Regions from separate parts of the Homo sapiens genome. Here regions 1, 2, 3 and 4 are each linked to region 5. The links are contacts of gene promoters, found by promoter capture Hi-C in blood cells and fetal thymus (Javierre and others, 2016). All regions are on one chromosome and are shown on one strand. The core of a region is centred on a gene start or on the middle of the fragment in contact, and the rest is flanking DNA. Distances in the headings are between cores, read along the strand shown. Region 1 has its middle 42 kb from the start of SYNM. Region 2 overlaps SYNM (synemin). Region 3 overlaps LUNAR1 (leukemia-associated non-coding IGF1R activator RNA 1). Region 4 has its middle 25 kb from the start of SYNM. Region 5 holds the start of IGF1R (insulin like growth factor 1 receptor).

Region 1 (2,700 bases), core at 25-2,524, 410 kb after region 5:
GGCACAGACTGTTTCATCTTTTTCGGTATGCCCATTGTACATTGCATGGTACTTTACCCACTGCAGGATTCAAATATTTATCAGTAATTTGGTATAACCCAATGATGATGGAGCAATCCACAGAAAAATTAATTGCATAATTAGTTGTTTGAGAGCTGCTTCCATTAGCTAGGTGGTAAGTTCCTTGGGGACAGAGATGTACCTGTTCCTTTCCTGTCCTGGCACTAGGGCAGTGCCTGCACACAGTAGGTGCTCCATAAATGTTCGCTAAGTGACTAAGTCCAGGCTGCTCTGCCCCAAGCAGCCTTCCTTCTTGAGGAATCAAAATGAGAGCTTATTTGCTTTTCTCAGGGACCTCTGTCTGTCAAATGATTAGTCACCTATATGGACCAGACCCCTCAGCAGGAATTAGCTCTGATTAACATAGCAGAAAAGGGAAGCTCTTGGAATGGATGGGAAGGCAGGAGAAGAAGGCTTAGAAATTGGGCAGGAAATGAAGGAAGGAAGGCAAGAGGAAGACTTGGCCAAAGTCATGCCAGGGAGAGGCAGCTGACGCTGGCACCCTTGGGCACTGCCACCACCCGCACTAGATTCCCCCCTGCCCTGCCATGGCCAGCTGCCCCTGCAGTACATGGATTCTGTCTTGTTCCTGTGTCTTGGATCACTTGATTGAGAGTCAAGGCCTCAGAGGGAGGATCAGGTGGCTAAACCCAAGTGCTGTGCTGGGTGTTGGGCTGGGAAACGTTTAGCAGCTTGCTCACCAGTGGGAAAAGCCCGGATTTGCAGCATTTGCTGACTTCCATGGAGACATTCCCACCATGACTGATTTTTATTTGCCAACCATTTAACAACCAGCTCGAAGGATTCCTGAGAATGTAAAAGTTGGTGCTGGTGGGCTGGTGAGCTGTGCTCCAGCATACTCCTGTGTGTGCCCCATTGTCTGAGATTCCCACAGTAGGGAAAATCCCCTGGAAAGGAAGTGGGAAGGTTGCCAGGTAGCCCCGCAACACCAGTACATGTCCATATCTCAAAGCAATCCAGGGTATTGTGGCAGGGGCGCTATAACCCAAAGTGTGCTAGCCCTTCTACTTGTTAACAGGAGCTTTCAGAGATAATACCCAAAGGAAGGTGAACGATGAAATTTACGATTGTGGGGCAGGCCAGTGGGGCAGATGTTTGAAGGCAGAGGGGGATGAGGGAAAGATGTTTAGATCTGTACCCTTCAGATCTCAGTCAGTGTCCCTCCTATACTTGTAGCTCTCCAAGAACAAGGACCCAGCCCTGAATTATCCAATAAGTTGTCGGGAAACAGAGAAGCCTTCTCTAGGAGGGATTTACCTCGTTTCCCAGGTTTCAAGTCCAAGGACAAGAATAATTACAACAGTGGCTACTATTGTGTATAAAGAGCTTCCTGCATGTGCCAGGCATGTGTGAAGCACAGTCCTTCACCTAGGTAGCTTTTCTAAGGATAGGTCACTCATGGATAATCCCCCTGGGATTTGAGCCCAGGCTGTCTAATGGCCAAGCCATGTTCCTGATCACAAAGCCATCCTGACTTGGCCCATCTGTTGGTTGTCTCTGAATGAACCACAAGGCATGCCCACATTTTGGAAAATGGAAACCCATTCAAAACCCTGGAGCTCCCAGACACACATTAGATTAAAGAGACTGCAGAGACAATGTGGTCAAACTGATCCACACTGCCATCTGAGGTCTGCCCCTTGGCAGCTTCCTTCTATGTAAAAATGGATCCAGGGATGCCCAATGCCAGGGCTATGGTGGAGCCATGTTGGAGCACAGGACATCCGACACATCATAGGCTGTGAGTGTCATTATGCATTTTTAGAAGATTGTTTACTTAAGTCGAAATTACTACGGACATTTACTATTTTTGTTTTTAAAATCGTCTCTCAGACATCGCTTAGAGATATTCACACATCGATTTTAGAGTAAAGACGTCAAAATGTGGGAGACTGGCTTATTGAGCAGGCAGTACTCCTGGGATGTCATCATGAAAGTAACTGATTTTTGTCTCACGTTTTCCCTTGAAATGTCCCTCAGAATTGCCTTTTCTGGTTCTGGATGAAGTCTCAGGTCAGTTCCATGTCTTTCCTGGTCACTCTTAGGGGCATAGGATGTTGGAGGTGACAACAGAGACAGCCTCCTCTCCAGAGACTGGTTACATGCAGTGCCGGCTGATAACCAGAGTCTCTGCCTTCCTTCACAGTGACAGCTGCTGCCCCTCCACTGTAGGACCTACTGCAGGCAAGAGCCTGCTGCACAGGAATGGGGGAAGAGAAATGGTCATTGTCTCCCTTTCCAGTCCTCTTCCACAGCTTGAAGACGACAGACAAATTCAGACTCTTCTGGCTGAGTGAAAGTCACATCTTTTTTTTTTTTTTTTTGAGACGGACTTTAGCTCTTGGCTGGAGTGCAATGGCGCAATCTCGGCTCACTGTAACCTCTGCCTCCCGGGTTCAAGCAATTCTCCTGCCTCAGCCTCCCAAGTAGCTGGGATTACAAGCGTGCACCATCACACCTGGCTAATCTTGTATTTTTAGTAGAGACGGGGTTTCACCATGTTGTTCAGGCTGTCTCAAACTCCTGACCTCAAGTGATCCACCCGCCTCAGCCTCCCAAAGTACTGAGATTATAGGCATGAGCCACTGCGCCCGGCTGAAAGTTACATCATTTAAGAAC
Region 2 (2,700 bases), core at 167-2,666, 470 kb after region 5:
ATCCTAGGAACTGGAGACTGTGTTTACAGATGAACAGACTTTGCTCAGAGAAGTTACAGAACTGGAAAGTGGAGGGCCAGGATGTGTTAGTGTGTTTTCACACCGCTATAAAGATCCTACCTGAGCCTGGGTAATTTACAAAGGAAAGAGGTTTAATTGACTCACAGTTATTCCGCAGGGCTGGGGAGGCCTCAGGAAACTTACAATCGTGGCGGAAGGCAAAGGAGAAGCAAGAACCTTCTTCAGAAGGTGGCAGGAGAGAGAGAGAGCTCAGGGGAAACTGCCACTTTTAAAGCATCAGATCTCATGAGAACTCACTCCCTATCATGAGAACAGCGTGGGGAAAATTGCTCCCATGATCCAGTCACCTCCCACCAGGTCCCTCCCTCAACACGTGGGGGTTACAAATCGAGATGAGGTTTGGGTGGGGACCCAGAGCCAAACCGTGTCACAGGATTTGGACCCAGGAAGTCTGTGTCTATCTGCTTGATTGTTGCTTTGAATCTCAGGGCTCTGATGCCACCCTGTGTGGGTTTGGCCCTGAACTGAATCTCTTCCAAGAGATTAGCATGGTGCATGCTAATGTAGGCCAACTGGCTTTATGTATCAAGATGTTGACTTGAGTTCAAGGTAACCAACTCTGATGAAAAGGTCACAAAGCGCTCAAAGGGGCTGGGTGCTGGGTGGGGCAGAGAATGCAGTCCAGTCCCCCTGGGTGTGGCCTGCAGGCCGGCGGAACAGTGCTCCTCCCCTCCTTGGCATCACCCTCCTTTCCCCTGGGTGCCAGTGCGTCTTTGATTGAGGTGGTGCCCCTTGTTTCCTGGCAGCTCTCATGCTCAGGGCAGCTATGAAGGAGCCAGGGTCTGTGACGCTTACAGTGGAAGGAATTTTAGAGACCCAGTTGCCCAACTTCAGGAACACTAACAATAGCCAGCTTTATGGCGTCCTTACTGCCTGCCAGACGTGGTGCTGAGTTCTTTGCCACTATTCTCTGCTCCGAGTCAACTCTGAGGTGGGCACCACTCTCCCCTCTTAGAGGTGAGAGAGAGAGGCCGGGAGGTTGGGGCTGCAGGCTGGTGAGGGGCAGAGCCAGCCAGGTCTGGTGCCAAAGCTGTGCCATCCCCACCAAGCCGTGTAAAAAGGGCACAGTGCCTGCTCCGTTCCCAGGATTGTGGAACATGTGGCAGTGGAGGGTGTGAGCAAGCTGTGGAAACCGCTTTGGCAGAAGAGTCAAAGTCTGGTCATCTCCAGTGGTGTCTCCTTCACAGGTGGCAGATTAAACCTGGAGAGGTTAAGAAGGGGACCAACTCCCCTGGTGAGGGGTAGAGCAGGGACCATCCCCAGGCCTAGTTCAGCACATCTTGTAGGCTGCCTGTGTAATCTTCTGATCATGATTTTTTTTTTCATTTTTTTTATTATTTTTTATTTTAATTTTAATTTTATTTATTTTATTCTATTTTTTTTTTTTTGAGATGGAGTCTTGCTCCATCTCCTAGGCTGGCATGCAGTGGCACGAGCTCAGCTCACTGCAACCTCCGCCTCCTGGGTTCAAGCAATTCTGTTTCAGCCTCCTGAGTAGCTGGGACTACAGGCCCCTGCCACCATTCCTGGCTGATTTTTGTATTTTTAGTAGAGACAGGGTTTCACCTTGTTGGTCAGGCTGGTCTCGAACTCCTGACCTCAGGTGATCCACCCACCTCGCCGCCACAAAGTGCTGAGATTACAGGTGTGAGCCACTGCGCCCGGCCCTGATCAGGATTTTTTGCTCTAAGAATATCAAGGTGACCTGAATTGCTTTGATGTCTATTAAAAGGGTATCTGGCTGATACGTTGCTTGTAGTTTACATTGCAGCCTGGGCCGGCCTCACTGTCTTTATTTTCTGGAAGACTTACATCAGCCAGGGTTCATCTGAGCCCTCACTCCCATCAGTGAAGAGGGAGCAGCTCTATCAGGCAGCCCCTGGCCTGGGCCCCAGGAGGCTGCTAAGGGGTGAGGCCTTCCCAGGGACATGGAGTCCATGGAGGAGCCACGGCTTCACCAAGGGATGAATTGAGGGGTGGTCCTGGGGCTAAGGCCATGAGGGCCTTTCTGGATCCCCCATTTGAGAGCCTTGCTGCCACTGAGGGGCTGGTGGCCGGGGCTCAGAGAAAGGGGAAAAGATGTTGCCAGACTGGACTTCCCAAAGCCCATTGTTGGCATTCTCCTTGGAAATCTTGTGGGGTGAACAGTTGCACAATTAAATTGGTAGGGCATTGAAACACACGTTGAGTTAGATGATCTAAACTTTAATATGGAAAACTTGAAAACACTCGGGCTTTATTTGGGGGAAGAAAGCATTAATCAGGAATTTTTCATTTGTGAGTGACAGAAACTCTCCTCAGACTGCCCCAAGTCAGAAAAAGAATTTATTACTCATATACCTGAAAGTCTTGTGCTGGTCTACTCTGTGTTATGAAGGAATAACTGAGACTGGATAATTTGCAAAGAAAAGAGGTTTATTTTGGCCCACAGTTGTGCAGGCTGTACCGGAATCGTGGTGCTGGCATCTGCTCCTGGTGAAGCCTCAGGAAGCATACAGTCATGGTGGAAGGTGAAAGGGCAGCAGGCATGTCACATGGCAAGAGAGCGAGCAAGAGAGTGGGGAGGTGTCAGGTTCTTTTTTTTTCTTTTTGACATGGAGTCTCACTCTGTCACCCAGG
Region 3 (2,700 bases), core at 170-2,669, 370 kb after region 5:
CTGTAATCCCAGCACTTTGGGAGCCCGAGGTGGGCAGATCGCTTGAGCCCAGGAGTTCAAAACCAGCCTGGGCAACATGGCGAAACCCTGTCTCTACAAAAAAGTGCAAAAATTGGCCAGGTGTGGTGGTACACACCTGTAGTCCCAGCTACTTGGGAGGCTGAGGTGGGAGAATCACCTGAGCCCAGGGAGGTTGAGGCTGCAGTGATCTGTGATGGTGCCACGGCACTCCAGCCTGGACGACAGAGACTTTGTCTCAAAAAAAAAAAAATATATATATATATATATATACATATACATATATATACACACATATATGAAGGAAGGAAGGAAAGCAAGCAAGCATCACTTCACAGCATCTCTTTGGCATTTCTGAATTGCCAGCATCCCTACTTTTACGCTTTGGGGCAGTGATTAAATAAGAATTACTTGAACACAAGCACTGTGACGCCAGGACAATTAATCTGATCATTGAGATGGCTCCTCACTGACTAATAGACAAGGAGCATTGACAGCGTGGATCCGTTGGACAAAGGGATGATTCATGCCTCCGGTTGGACAGATCCAGATGCCTCGAGATTTCATCATGCTACTCAGAACAACATGCAATTAAAAACTTTCCAACTGTTCATTTCTAGAATTTTCCATTTAATATTTTCAGACTATGGCGGTCTGCAAATAATTGAAGCCTCGGAAAGCAAAACTGAGGATAAGGGGGGACTACTGTATTGTTATGATTCTCATTTCACTGGTGAGGAAGCTGAGGCACAGAGACGAAGTAACTTGCCTAAGGTCACCTGGATAGTAAGTGGCAGTGTGGCCATGGGGTTGGTGGCGGTTTGACTCCACCCAGAGAAAGGAATCTGTCATGAGGGTGAGGTTCAAAGTGGATGCTCCCTCCCCTCCAAAAAGTGGGGGTCCCCTCCAAAAAATTAGAGGCCCAGAAAGTAAATAATTTATGATTCAGTTTCTAAGGGGACTCCTTCAGAGATGACCTCATGTAGACATAAAATTTTAAAAAACCAGAGGCGGGTGGATCACTTGAGGCCAAGAGTTCGAGACCAGTCTGGCCAACATGGTGAAACTCCATCTCTACCAAAAAAAATACAAAATATAGCCGGGCACAGTGGCTCATACCTGTAATCTCACCTACTCGGGAGGCTGAGGCACGAGAATTGCTTGAACCTGGGAAGTGGAGGTTGTAGTGAGGCAAGATTGCACCACTGCACTCCAGCCTGGGTGACAGAGTGAGACCCCATCTCAAAAAATAACAAAAAAACTCTCCCAAACCAAATAGTCTTCAGCCATTTTGGATCTTCTCTAGTCCATGGTGTGTAAGTGTCTGTAGGGGAACGTGGACCCAGCACGTCTGGGATTTCAGTTCTTGGGGAGCAGGGTCTCGCTGGGGACCATGGGCAGGGACTGGGCTGGATATTTGGACTCATAACACTGCCACAGACTATTCCCATTCCTTCATCAGTGTGAAAGGAAAGGATGAGGTGGCCTCTGAAAGTCTACCTGGCCATGGAGGTTGTCAGTTACTTCTCACCCAAGCAGATAGTATAGTCTATCTGCTGTAGGAAAGTTTGCTAGGAGGGATTTTTTTGTGATTGGGTGTATCGACGAGCTGGCTTGCCACCACCTGGCCAGGGCTCTGGGCAGCCCATCCCCTAGAATGTCTTTCCAGGGGTCCTGTTCTTCCTGGGAGGGCCGGGTCCACAGTGAGTTCCCCTGATGGCCAAGGCGTCTGTATTTCCATCTTCTGTTGTGATTCCTTGCCATGTAGTGGCATCTACACTAGAGATGGCTCTTATCACCCCCTTTCTACACATCAGGGGCTGTAGGATATCTGTATGAAATGGGATCTCCACAGCATAAGATGGCTGGTGTCCTGTCCCTCTCCACATGGGTCCTGCCATGGCCTGGCAGGACAGAGTGAATGACCAGACTTGGATAGGGTGGTGGCAGGGCAGTGGATGCTGAGTGTTGTCGTTTTGAACTTTGAAGCCCTAGTCTGGCGGCCAGCTGACCGGCCTTTGCTGGGCTCCTGACATTGGCTGGCTGCTGGTTCCTCTGGTATTCAGATTTACAGCTCAGCCCTGGGAAATTCAGAGGACTGTAGAAAATGGCTGTTTTGTGGTATAGAAAGAAACTTTAGGGAAAAATGTAAATGCTTGGTCAGATGCCCCGGGGGTCACATGACTTTTAAAGTCAGGGTTGCTGGAAGGCTGGGGAGCAGTTGCAGGTCAGTGACACCTGCTGGACCTGAAGGTCTGGGACTTTGGCACACAACAGTGGTGGTTTAGAAATGCCATGCCTTCTAGTGTGCCCACCTGTGGTTGTTGGTTTGCTTTTCCTAGGCCAGTAGTCAGCAGGCTTGGGCAGAGGTGGGGCACACAGGCTGCGTGAATCCAAAGGCCACTGTTGAAATCCAGCCATGTCCCTCCACCCACCACTGCTCTTCTCCTTGTCTTTCTTTCCTGTCCCATTCTCTGGTCCACTCTGTGCCTTCTCACTTCAAACCTTTTGCATTCTATATCCCCAGGCAATGGCTTCATTTCCCTCCTAAGAGGAACCTGCTCAAACCAATGCCTATTAACTCTCAAGGCACAGAAAACTTTCCATGCTTCTTTGCTCTTCCAAAGCAGGGCAGCCACAGAACCACCAGGAACTGCCCTGAGGCTGAGGCCTGGGAGTGCC
Region 4 (2,700 bases), core at 58-2,557, 430 kb after region 5:
TTGCATTTCTCAAATGATCAGTGATCTTGAGCTTTTTTTCTTACGCTTGTTGGCCACATATGTCTTCTTTTGAAAAGTGTCTATTCATGTTCTTTGCCCACTCTTTAATTAGGTTGTTTTCTCCTTATAGATGCTGAATATTAGACCTTGCAAATATTTTCTGCCATTCTGTAGGTTGTCTGTTTACTTTGTTGATAGTTTCTTTTGCTGTGCAGAAGCTCCCACATTTTATTAGATCCCATTTGTCAATTTTTGCTTTTGTGGAAATTGCTTTTGGTGTCTTCACCATGAAATCTTTGCCAGTCCCTATATCCAGAATGGTGTTGCTTAGGTTGTCTTCCAAGGCTTTTATAGTTTTGGGTTTTACATTTAAGCCTTGAATTCATCTTGAGTTGATTTTTGCATATGGTGTAAGGAAGGGGTCTAATTTCAATCTTCTGCATATGACTAGACAGTTATCCCAGCACCACTTATCAAACAGGGAGCTCTTTCCCCATTGCTTGTTTTTGTCAGCTTTGCCAGAGATCAGATGGTTGTAGGTATGTGGCCTTATTCAATGCTATTCCTATCAAACTACCAAGGACATTCTTCAGAGATCTAGAAAAAACTATTTAAAAATTCATATGGAACCAAAAAAGAGCGCAAATAGCTAAGGCAATCCTAACCAAAAAGAACAAAGCTGGAGGCATTACCTTACTCGACTTCACATTTTACTACAGGGCTACAGTAATCAAAACAGCATGGTACTGGTACAAAAACAGACATTTAGACCAGTGGAACAGAGCAGAGAGCCCAGAAATAAGGCCTGATTTTCAATAGCTGTGAAAAATGAAAAAGCATCCGTAAATATGTGTCCTTTGAGGTATAACATCCACCAGTGGATTTCTTTGGTTAGATGGTGTATATGTTTGACATTTAACCAAAGCTTCTGGCCAGCGTTCTTCATCCAAAGGACAGCAATTCACTCTCCCACTAACACTGTATGAACTGTTCCATCTACACCTTCATAAGCACTGAATGCTATCAAGCTTTTTAATTCTTGCCAATATGATTTGTGAGAAATGCTATCATGTTACCTTATAAAATACATTGCATTTCCCTGTCTAGTGAGTCTGGGGATCTTTCATTTATTGACCATTTTCATTTCCCTTCCTATGTATTGCCCAGTCACGTCCTTTCTGCATATTTCTATTGGGTAAGTTTTTTTCCTTATCAGTTCCAAGAGCTCCTTATATATTACAGATATTAACTCAGAAATCAAGAATGTTGCAGATATTTTCCCCAATCTGTTCTTGTGTTTTAACTTTTATTACTTTTTATTTATTTATTTATTTGAGACAAGGTCTTGCTCTGTTGCCCAGGCTGGAGTGCAGTGGCCCAATCACGAACTCCTGGGCTCAGACAATTCTCCCACTTCTGCCTCCATGCCTGGCTAATTTATAAATTTTTTTTGTAAAGACAGGGTCTCCCTAGGTTGCCCTGGCTTCTCTTGGCGTCCTCAAGTGATCCTCCCACCTTGGCCTGGCAAAGTGTTGGGATTACAGTCATGAGTCACTGCACCTGGCCATGTTTTAACTTTTTATAGTCAAGCTTGTCTTTTCTCTTCTGGATTCTAGATTTCCTGTTATGCATAAGCAATACCCCCCACCCATGCCATGCTCCAATCTTGAAATTATACACATTTTCTCCTAAATTTATTCCATTTTTTTATTTTTCATTTAGGGTTAATTCATTCATAATGATTTTATTCATGGCTGGAGGTGTTATTTTCCAGATCAATAACCAATTATGTTAGCAGTATTAATTAAATAAATCATCTTCTCTCCCACTGAACTAAAATGCCATCTTTATCATGTATTAAATTTGAATATATACTCAGATTTTTTTTGACTTTCTGGTCTTCTGATCTGTACACTTATTTATAAGCTAAAGTCATACAGTTTTAAAATTATTATATTAGTTTTCTAGAAAGTTTTAATAGCTGGTAAGGGAATCCCACCCACTGTCTTTTCACAATTAAATATTTTTGTTGTCAGTTCTAAAACATTTAGAATTTCTCCAATATAAATGCTAAGTACTTTTTGTATAGCCCCAGGAAAACACCATTGATATTCTGATTGGAATTAATTTAAGGTACATATTTATTTGGAAATCACTGACATTTATGATGATTAATTCTTCCCATTCAAGGACATCCTGTGTCTCACAATTAGTTGAAATATTGTTTTTACACCCTGTAACAAAATGTATAGCTTTCTTCATGGAGGTCTCATAATTTTTGGTAAATTTTAACAGTTAATTTTTCTAAGTAAATAATATAATGGCTATACAGCACTTAACCCAAAAATCCAGTGTGTAGTAACTATTACAAATGTTAGGTATTAAAATTATTGTTGTTATTTTGATTATTAGCTTTACTTATTCTCATTGAGTAAAATCATAGAAAATATAAAGCTTGAAAAAGCTCTTTGCTGGTTAACTCACATGGACCCTCGATATTGTAAAAATGTAATTTCTCCCCCAAAATTGATCTATAGAATCAATACAATTCCAATAAAAATTCTAGGAGATTGTATGTGTGTGTGTAAATTCACAAGTTGCTTGTAAAATTTATATAGAAAGACAAAGAGCCAAAAATAACCAAGCCAATCTTGAAGGAAAATAAGAGGACTTATACTAGAGGATATTGAGACTTCTTAT
Region 5 (2,700 bases), core at 145-2,644:
ATTCATTAGATGGCAGTCCTAGGGGAGTCTCGCTTTGGGGAAACCTCTCCTCCTGCACATTCAAGAAAACAACCGCGGAGACTTAGGGTCGGTACTGGTTTCCAGTCACTTACGTAGCAAACGAAGCAAGAGGAACGTGCCTGGGAGGACCCGAGACAGGTGCGGGTGGGTTTCCGCAGTAGCCGCTGATCCCGAGTGCATGCGGCGTGTTCCCGGGTCGGGACCGCGGCCAAGGGAGGCTTCCCGGCCCCAGCCTCCACCCCCTCCTCGGCGCCCCGGGACCCGGACACGCCCCCCGAGCTTCGGAGACCCGCAGCGTGCACGCGCCCCGGCCGCTCCCCGCAGCCGCCCACGTGGTGGAGCCCTGAGCTGCGCGAGGCCGCGGAGAGCGCTCAGGGCGGGCGGCTGGTCCGGGAGGCCACGCCAGCGCGACCCAGCCGAGTCGGCCCCCAGCCCGGGCCCCCACATTTCCTCCCCCGGAGGGAGGGAGGCGACTCTCCGCGGGCTGCCCTCCCCAGCGCCCGCCGCGCCCTCTGGCGGCCGCCGCGGGGACGCGCCCGGGGCACGCGGCGCTGCCTGTCTGGGCCCCCCTTCCGGGGCGCGGGGCCCGCGAGGGGCGGCGGGGTCCTCTCTCCTCGAGCCACTCTGGGCCGAGCCACACGGGCCGCGCCCTTCCCCCTCCGCTCCCCCTGAGCCCCCAAACTCCGGGCTCCACGGTCGCAACGCCGCGGGCACCCCAGCCTGGCGTGAAAGTGCCCGGCGTAGTAGCCTGGGGGGGGGGTCCCCTTTCTCCCAGGTGCGCCCCTTCCGCCACGTTCGGGCTTTCCAGTACGCAGCGAAAAAAATGCCGCATGCACGCATTTATTTATTTTGCAACAGCTGCAAGAAACAATGAAGCTTTTCAAGAACCGGGGAAACGCGCTTTCCAGCCGCGCTGTTGTTGTTTTCAATGAACCTCTCCCAGCCCCGCACTCCCCGCCCACCCCTCCCCTCTCCTGCCCACCCCTCCCCTGCCTAGCCTTTCCCTGGCTACCCACCCCTGCCCCGCCGAGACCGGACCGGCGGCGGGGGCATTGTTTTTGGAGTCGGGCGGGAGGGGAGGGCGCGTGCGGGGTGGCCGGCGCAGTGCGGTGGGGGCGGGAGCGGGTGGGCACGCGCGCGTGTCTCTGTGTGCGCGCGGGAGGCGGTGGGGCGGGAGATGGGGGCGGCGCCTCGCAGTCTCGCGCCCCACGCCCGGGCTCCGCTCCGCACGTCTTGGGGAACCGGGCTCCGGTTTTTTGCGCGCGCCGGCCTGGGCCGGGCCCTCGGCGCGCCGCTGCTGCGGCGGTGGCCGCTCGAGTGTGCGAGCGGGCGCGTGTGCGCGGGCCAGGGCGCGCGCGCGCGCGCGAGCCCCCAGTGTGTGGCAGCGGCGGCGGCGGCGCGGCGAGGCTGGGGCTCTTGTTTACCAGCATTAACTCCGCTGAGCGGAAAAAAAAAGGGAAAAAACCCGAGGAGGAGCGAGCGCACCAGGCGAACTCGAGAGAGGCGGGAGAGCGAGAGGGACGCCGCCAGCGAGCCTGCCCACGGCCGGCGCTCGCAGACCCTCGGCCCCGCTCCCCGGATCCCCCCGCGCCCTCCACGCCCCTCCCGCGCGGGGGCAGCTCCACGGCGCGCCTCGCCTCGGCTGTGACCTTCAGCGAGCCGGAGCCCCCGCGCAGAGCAGGCGGCGGCGGGCGGGGGCCGGGCGGGGGCCGGCGCGGGGCGGGCGGCGGCGCAGAGCCGGGCGGCGCGGCGGGAGTGCTGAGCGCGGCGCGGCCGGCCCGCCGCTTTGTGTGTGTCCTGGATTTGGGAAGGAGCTCGCCGCGGCGGCGGCGGCGCTGAGGGAGGAGGCGGCGGCGAGCGGAGCCAGGAGGAGGAGGAGGAGGGGGAGCCGCTCATTCATTTTGACTCCGCGTTTCTGCCCCTCGCCGGCCTCGCCTGTGACCCGGACTTCGGGGCGATCTTGCGAACTGCGTCGCGCCCTCCCGCGGCGGAAGCTCGGGCGTCCGGCCGCCTCCCGCGCGGCCAGGGCCGGGCTTGTTTTTCCTCGCCTAGGCAGATTTGGGCTTTGCCCCCTTTCTTTGCAGTTTTCCCCCCTTCCTGCCTCTCCGGGTTTGAAAATGGAGGCCGACGACGCCGACAGCCCGCCCCGGCGCGCCTCGGGTTCCCGACTCCGCCGAGCCCTGGGCCGCTGCTGCCGGCGCTGAGGGGCCGCCCCGCGCCGCCCGCCCCGTCCGCGCACCCGGAGGGCCCCGGCGGCGCCGCCTTCGGAGTATTGTTTCCTTCGCCCTTGTTTTTGGAGGGGGAGCGAAGACTGAGTTTGAGACTTGTTTCCTTTCATTTCCTTTTTTTCTTTTCTTTTCTTTTTTTTTTTTTTTTTTTTTTTTGAGAAAGGGGAATTTCATCCCAAATAAAAGGAATGAAGTCTGGCTCCGGAGGAGGGTCCCCGACCTCGCTGTGGGGGCTCCTGTTTCTCTCCGCCGCGCTCTCGCTCTGGCCGACGAGTGGAGAAAGTGAGTATGTGCCCGCCGCCCGCGGCCACTGCGGGAACTTTTCCTCCGAGGGGCTGCGCCCTGTTTGCGAAACCCGAGTTGCCACCGTCGCAGCTGTCGGGCCCCCGGGCTCGGGAGCGGCGGGGTGGGGCGCAGGGCGGCTCTGCCGGGAGGGAGGCTGCAGCGGACC

Evidence for each region. The method cuts DNA at HindIII sites, captures the fragments that hold promoters and counts their contacts. A CHiCAGO score of 5 or more calls a contact.
Region 1: a contact is called between a fragment that was not itself captured here and the fragment with the promoter of IGF1R in region 5, in 1 of 17 cell types (fetal thymus). The highest score is 7.9, in fetal thymus.
Region 2: a fragment that was not itself captured here is called in contact with the fragment with the promoter of IGF1R in region 5 in 1 of 17 cell types (fetal thymus); the score reaches 5.0 in fetal thymus.
Region 3: a fragment that was not itself captured here is called in contact with the fragment with the promoter of IGF1R in region 5 in 2 of 17 cell types (fetal thymus and M0 macrophages); the score reaches 6.0 in fetal thymus.
Region 4: a fragment that was not itself captured here is called in contact with the fragment with the promoter of IGF1R in region 5 in 5 of 17 cell types (endothelial precursors, fetal thymus, M0 macrophages and 2 more); the score reaches 12.6 in endothelial precursors.

What each region holds. Positions count from the first base shown.
Region 1 is chr15:99,061,395-99,064,094 of GRCh38, forward strand. No RefSeq gene overlaps it. Among named protein-coding and RNA genes, the nearest start is that of SYNM, 42 kb to the right of the region's middle. The HindIII fragment of the contact is 7,563 bases long and covers 1-2,700 here.
Region 2 is chr15:99,114,014-99,116,713 of GRCh38, forward strand. All of the region lies in intron 2 of SYNM (synemin), which reads left to right. Among named protein-coding and RNA genes, the nearest start is that of SYNM-AS1, 9.5 kb to the left of the region's middle. The HindIII fragment of the contact is 9,267 bases long and covers 1-2,700 here.
Region 3 is chr15:99,019,227-99,021,926 of GRCh38, forward strand. All of the region lies in intron 1 of LUNAR1 (leukemia-associated non-coding IGF1R activator RNA 1), which reads left to right. Among named protein-coding and RNA genes, the nearest start is that of LUNAR1, 5.9 kb to the left of the region's middle. The HindIII fragment of the contact is 4,877 bases long and covers 1-2,700 here.
Region 4 is chr15:99,078,419-99,081,118 of GRCh38, forward strand. No RefSeq gene overlaps it. Among named protein-coding and RNA genes, the nearest start is that of SYNM, 25 kb to the right of the region's middle. The HindIII fragment of the contact is 562 bases long and covers 1,027-1,588 here.
Region 5 is chr15:98,647,145-98,649,844 of GRCh38, forward strand. It overlaps IGF1R (insulin like growth factor 1 receptor), which reads left to right and starts at 1,395. Exons shown (of 21, transcript NM_000875.5): 1 at 1,395-2,531. The coding sequence starts at 2,438. IRAIN (IGF1R antisense imprinted non-protein coding RNA) reads right to left here. Exons shown (of 1, transcript NR_126453.2): 1 at 1-2,700. RefSeq lists an enhancer at 1-118 and silencers at 130-179, 190-659, 720-779, 1,150-1,419. The HindIII fragment of the contact is 3,709 bases long and covers 896-2,700 here.